Regions from separate parts of the Homo sapiens genome. Here region 2 is linked to region 1. Evidence: promoter capture Hi-C in 16 types of primary human blood cells and fetal thymus (Javierre and others, 2016). All regions are on one chromosome and are shown on one strand. Each heading gives the region's core, a stretch centred on a gene start or on the middle of the fragment in contact. The rest is flanking DNA. Distances are from core to core; before and after follow the strand shown. Region 1 holds the start of HOXD11 (homeobox D11). Region 2 has its middle 33 kb from the start of LINC01117.

The links. Contacts are between HindIII fragments. The CHiCAGO score rates a contact against its expected background, and 5 or more counts as called.
Region 2: a fragment that was not itself captured here is called in contact with the fragment with the promoter of HOXD11 in region 1 in 1 of 17 cell types (fetal thymus); the score reaches 5.5 in fetal thymus.

Annotation. Positions count from the first base shown.
Region 1 is chr2:176,105,384-176,108,659 of GRCh38, reverse strand. It overlaps HOXD11 (homeobox D11), which reads right to left and starts at 1,380. Exons shown (of 2, transcript NM_021192.3): 1 at 524-1,380. The coding sequence starts at 1,304. The HindIII fragment of the contact is 7,005 bases long and covers 1-3,276 here.
Region 2 is chr2:176,668,951-176,672,163 of GRCh38, reverse strand. No RefSeq gene overlaps it. Among named protein-coding and RNA genes, the nearest start is that of LINC01117, 33 kb to the right of the region's middle. The HindIII fragment of the contact is 2,126 bases long and covers 588-2,713 here.

The DNA of each region.
Region 1 (3,276 bases), core at 131-2,630:
GAGCCTGGCACGGAGGTGGGGAAGCAGAGGGCAAGGCAGGCTCTAAACTGGAACCTGAGGGAACAGAGACAAGAGCAGGCCCGCCGGGGCATCTGCTTGACTCCAGCGGCGCGCGTCAGCTAGCGGCTTGGATAAAGTCCAGTGCAAGGATCAAACTCCCCCCACTTCCCCACCCCCCGCCTCTCTCCCTTAAAAGCAGGAGGCTCCGGTGTATGCACTCACACTGGCTTGAAATCTCCCTCCCTCCCTCCCTCCATGGTATCTAGCAACCCCCTGCCCAAAACTGGGAAAAGGCTCTCGACAGCTATTAATGTCCTCCTCGAAGTCTACCTTAAGCCCACCTAAATTGGTTTCCTACCATAAACACACTTTACAACGGCCCAGGAAATCTTATAGGATGTATAAACCTCTTCGAATGCTTATAAAGTAGCACATAAAAAGGCGCAAGCAGAGGGAGGCCTCCGCCCCCCCCCCCTCCCCCGCGGCCCCCGGGCCCACCGCTTGCCCAGTACCCGGTGCCTACCTGCGCTGCTGCTCTTCTCGGCCCCCGCCTCTCCCGGGGGGCCCTCGCCGTCGCCACCGCTGCCTTCTGCTGCCCCCTTGGGCTCCGAGCCAGGGGTCGCCTTGGTGCAGGGACTGCCCCCGCCGCCACCAGCCCCGGTCCTGGGGTCGCCCTTGTCGGCTGCGCCCTCGGGCTGTGGCGGCGCGGGTGGCGGCGGGGGCTGCGGCCCGGCGAACGGGGGCCCGGGCGCTGCCTCGTAGAACTGGTCGAAGCCCTGTGGCAAGATGCCATTGCGGCCCACCGCGCTGTAGAAGTTGGAGGCGGCGCCCGCGGGGCCGTGCGGCGGCCCCGGCGCAGCGCACACCGGCTCAGGCGCCTTGAAGAGCACGTCCGGCCGGCGGCCCGCGGGCGGGAGAAGCTCGCGTTGCATGGCCGCCTCCTCGGCCGCCGCGGCCGCCGCAGCCGCCGCCGCCGCCGCCGCGTAGTAGGGAGCGTAGCCCCCCGCGCCGCCGCCGCCCCCGCCGGGGCCGCCCCCGCTGCTGCCGCCCCCCGCGCTGCCGCCGCCGCCGCCGCCGCGGTACGGCCACTTGGCGCGCTCCAGGCCGTAGTCGCGGAAGGCCACTTCGCGCACGGGCTGGACGTGCGGAGCCAGGTTGGAAGAGTAGGGGAAAGTCATCTGGCAGGACGACGGTTGGGAAAGGAACGAAGGCTTGCTAGCGAAGTCAGACGGGGCCACATAGTAGGCGCAGCCCGGCAGGTACATGCTGGCTGCGCTCTGGCCGCACTCGTCAAAGTCGTTCATGACTCCGCGGCGTGCGCGCCAGCGAGCCTCTGGCCGCTCCCCGCGCAGCCAACCTGAGCCATCGATTGCACAAGAGGCTTGGGCCAGGATCAACTAAGCAAAAATCCCCACCGGGCGCTGACGTGCAATTCATCTTGATTGATTCTGGTGGTAATTATGTCACGTGACGCCATGAAGAGAAATGTCCTTATATCTATATCAACGCTCGCCAACACGCCCCGGGACGGCTCCTGGCGCCGAGACGCGCGCGCTGGGGGCGGATCGGCTGCCCTCTGCCGCCAGCTCTCCCCGGGCGCTCCCTGACCAGGCTGCGCCTCAGGCCGGTCACCTGCGCGCCGCTGGCCGCTGTCACCGCTGGGCGCATCTGCCACCGCCCGAACGGGCCGCCCGCCCGCGTCCGCCCTCCCGCGCCGCTTTAAGTACGCGGACCGAGGCCGGCGGGGAGGAGGAAGGAGGGGGAAGAGGGGGAGGAAGGGGGAAGGGAGAGAAGCAGCGAGCAGAGGGGGGGAAGCCCCGGCTCCAGGCTCCCTAGAAGCTAGGAACTAGGTGTGAGGGTGTGAGGTTCCGAACCCCACCCCCCTTACTGCAGCCGCTCCCTCCCCCGCGACTCTGCCACCCTCTGCAGCTCACCCGCCTGGGAGCTTGTTGCTTCTTGTTCACCGGGCGGGAGTAATTTCGCCACTCTCCAGGGCGCAGGGAGCCCTGATTTACATATTTTTCTGCCCAGCGCGTTCAGAGTGGAGTGACTTGGCTCTTTCCGGTTCTGACCCCAAGGGTGCGAGTGCTGGCCTCGGAAAAACCCAGGCCATTCACCACCTAGGCACTCACCCAGGCCGGGGCCTTCGTGCCCACCCGGCTCTCTTCCCTTCTCTCTGGTTTCCCTCTCTGTTCTTGTCTCTCTTTCTCCTTGCCTCGTTTCTCTTCAGTCTTCTCCCTTCTCTCTCCTGTCTTCACTTCTCTCCTTCCTCTTCTTTTCCGCTTTCCTTCTTCCTTCCTCTTGCTTTCCTGTCTCCCTTCTCCTCTCTCTCTCTGTCCTCTCATCCTCTCCCCTCCTTTCCTCTAAGCTGTGTGTCACTGTCTCTGTCTCTCTCCCCGTTGCCTCTCTGCCTTCTCCTTCAGCACTGAAGCCAGGAGGGGGCTCAGCCCGTGGTCCCCAGCCTCCCTAGAATCTGGGGAGTCTGGTGAACAAAAGGATCTGGAGTCCTACTCTTAGGGTGCTTGGCTTCCCGCTGGCTCCCCACAAGAGACAACCCCCACACACTCGCACCTTCGTCCTCCTCACCCCTCTGCTTTCAGGCCTAGCCTGGGTGTCCGCCTTATACCTAGACCCTTCACTGCTTCGGAGCCCCGCCAAGGCCTGCGAATCCACGCCGCGTTTCCCCGAGGCTCTTCTGGTACCCTTGGGTCTGCATGGTCACTTCAGCCCCTCCCCCAAGATAGGTTGTCTCTCTAAGGGCTCTCAGCGGAGCCTGACTCCCTCCTGGAGCCCCTCTGTGTCACCTGGCTCTGAGGCAGACTCTTCGTGGGGCACCCCATCCACTCCCCCAAGGCCTCACTCTCCTCCCAGCCTGCCGCGACCCTCTCCTAGCCCATGGGTCCAGGCAAGGCCTGGGATCCCACCTCCGAGTGAGCAGACGCTTTTCAAAGGTAAACCGTCTCTTCCCAAACCCAAATCCCAGAACCGAGGGCAGGAGGCTGCCCCTTTCCCCAAGATTCCTCCGCCCAGGCAATCCCAGCGCTGGGGCCTGGGCCTCAGTCCTATACCCAGGGCAGGCGGCGCTGGCTGTGATGCTGGTTCCCTCCCTGGCCCGGGCTGCTGCAGTGCCGGTGCTGTGCGCTCTGCCCACCGTGCGGACAGACAGAGAAAAGGCGGGTGGTCTGAGCTAATATCTATTTTCTGGCTGATGTACCCCCCCTTCCTCTTTTTCTCCTCCCTCCCTTTCTCCCTTCCTCTCTCCTTCCTCCGCCCCTT
Region 2 (3,213 bases), core at 401-2,900, 560 kb before region 1:
TATCTGTTTTGTGTTTTGATTTGATTTGTTTTGCCCCTCATTTCTCAAGGAAGCCTTTCTGTGATCTATAGCCTTTGCAAAGAAGAAGAGTTGTATGGAAGGGCCAGCTTTGGGGTCCTTAGATGAATTATTTGGGAGCATTGCCTAACACTACTTTTACTGACATTCAGCCAGGTCAAGGCCATGGCTCCAAATAAGGAAAAAATAAAAGGCTACTGTCCAGCTGGGTCAGTGGCTGGTATCTTAGCTACTTGCACCAAAGCTCTGGTATAAATATTTGATTGTTTCTCTCTAGATTTTTTGGTTACATTTCTGGAGAAAACAGAAAAGCTACAGTATACATGCCTGTGTTTACACACACACACACACACACACACACACACACACACACACCCACAATCACACAACAGTAAACATTCATTGGAGGTGGAATTCTGGTTTAAGGATCAACTCTGCCCCAGATTGTATAAAAATAATAGTAGCATAATCTTTTAAACCACTGTTTTGATCCCTAGCTTATTTTTACTTTATTAGTTAAATAATTAATATTCACGTTAAGCCAACGACTTATCAGTGGCTTTAAAGCTTTAAAGCAGAATCCAACATGTGAAGTTAATTTCTTCTTTATTCAAACTGTTATAGTGAATATAGATGTGAAATCACTTTACAAATTATAAAGCAATATACAAATGCAAGCTGATATGATCATTAATTGAGTCCATGCATTCATTCATTAAGCAAACATTTACTTAATGTTCATCACATAGCAGCACAGTTCCAGGTACTTGACAGTGTCAAAGTTGCCTGCAGACCCCTTTGATTTTGGTTTGGAACTGTGAACCAGCAATTTATCCAGTGAGTAATATGCCTTTGAAATGGGTCCTGATTTCAAAGAAAAGCATACAAAGCCTTTCAATTTTAAGCTCACAAACAACTGGATTTCACCGAGTAGGATTTTGAATATACACCAAATCTATTCAAAGCAAAACTAGTTTCTTAGCCTCAGCAGCTGCAAGAAATGTTACCTAGCAATTGAAGGCTGGAGGTTTACCCAATGCAAAGTAATGTAGCTATTTGGTGTTTTCTTAATTTTGTCATTGCAGAAAGCAAATGAAAATAATTTATGCCCCTAAGGAGATTTTTCTTCTTTCCTCCTTTCCTTTTTATTTATTGTTGCTGTTGTTAGTGGTTGAGATATTTTGAGAGAAAGTGGGGGAGGGCTGAACAATCATCTTGGTGAGCTGAGTAGATCAAAGGAATAGATTCCATGGGCTGGGCACATTCTAAATGTTCTTTGGGTTTTGATGTGCCAAAATCACACTAGAACCTGTAATTTAAATTTCATTGTCAGAACTTTATCTAGTTAACTTCTACCTTACCTTATCAGAAACAAGGTTTCTTTGAATAGTACAGAGAAAAAAAGAGGTAGAGAGAGAAATCTCCAATAAACCTTTATTTAGGATCTATAGATAAATACTCATTTCACAACTTCTGCTTGTGTTCTACACAAGCCCTCATGGCACAAAGAGAGACTTTTAAAAATTTTTAAATAAGATTCTTGAAAAGGAGTTTCAAGCTCCTTGAGAATAGTGAGTTTATTTTGTTTTATCTCTTCAGTACATAGCCTGGGTCTGGCAGTTTGTTAAATAAGCAAGTGAATGAATGAATTATGATAATACCAGCAGCATCTACCAAAACTACTGAACAAAGTTCCAGCCAGTACTAAGTGACATTCAACCAGAATTCTTTAAAAAGCATCAGCCACAAAGAAAGTTAGCCGGAGCTAGGAACAAAGCTATGCTATGGCCATACAGAGGGAATTTCGTAATGTTGCTCATCCTAGAGAAGTGATTTCCCAAAGGCAGGTCTGTGCAAACATTTTCACAGGTCCAGAGCAAAATGAGGAAATTTTCTTAAGAAAGATTTTATTTTTAGATTATAGTCTTCTCATATTATAGTATAAAAATTTCCCTTCTTGTATGAAACAAAGGAAAAAAGAGACTGGTTGTGTTCACTGTCTTTACAGGAGTGAGGTGGGAGGTAGTTAGCAATTCTGTTAGTCCTCAAACTATTTTTGGAAACTGCCAGGTTATGAAAAGCCAAGGTAAGATAATCAACGGACCACAGAACTTAGCCTCTCAGCCTGCTCTCCTGAAAGTAAATGGGACCTACAACTACAAGTCACAGTGACCTCCTATCACTCTCATGACTGCCTGCAACAAGGTAGTGAAAACATAGAACATGTCCTCCTGATGTCTCCAACTTTCTGGGTGTGATACTGATCACAGGTGAGGTTTTCACAGTCTGTTTCTAATTCATTCCTATGCTGACACAGGCTGCACTTTTAACCAAGTTTTTGCTGCTGAATGCTTCATTGAATTCTCCTTTCCTGGAGAGACTTTAGAATCACTTGATCCCCAGATTCAAACAGCATTCCAAGGCACTGGGGTTAGGGGAAGCAAAACCAAGGGCACGTTTCAAATGACAGGAAAGGCCCCTGCTGACCTCCCTGTACATGGTCCTGTTTGTCATGATGAGACGCTAATTTCAAACCAGGAAGTCTATTTAGTGAAGGAATGGAAACTCCCCACACGACACCAGGACTGTTTAAGATCACACACTCTACTCCGATCACACATTCACAGTGCACTAAAGTGGTTGAAGAAAATCACTCTGATTCTGGGCACTCCAGCTGTCTGAGAGTTCAAAAGCTTAGACCATCATGTGCTTGTTGCTATTATTCATGCTGAGAAAATCTTTTCATCTTTTTTTAAAAGTTGGTCAGAGAAACTGGGTGGTGCTTTTCCTTAAAATAACTTGAACAAAAATTAGAAATGAGATAACATGGTGACAAATGAAAACTCTACATTGTATTCATTCACTGAAAACTTTCCCAGCAATATAGGAAAAACCAGCCAAGCCTGGAAGGCAGCCTCCCTATCTGGGGAAATACTGTGAAGCTGGACAAATGATGAAACTGAGCTTTGAACAAATATACCCCTAATCCAACATAAGACATGGCTGAACAGCAAACTCAATGAGATCTTTGGTTTAGCAGAGAAATTATGTAATGTCAGAGAGCCCCAGACTTGCTTAGCTACATGTCTGAGAATGCTTAAAATGGTCCTTCCACAGCAACTAATACAGATGTACAATTCACTGACCTAGTTTTCCCAAATTGGATCAGTAGCAAATGATGATGATTTATGTCCC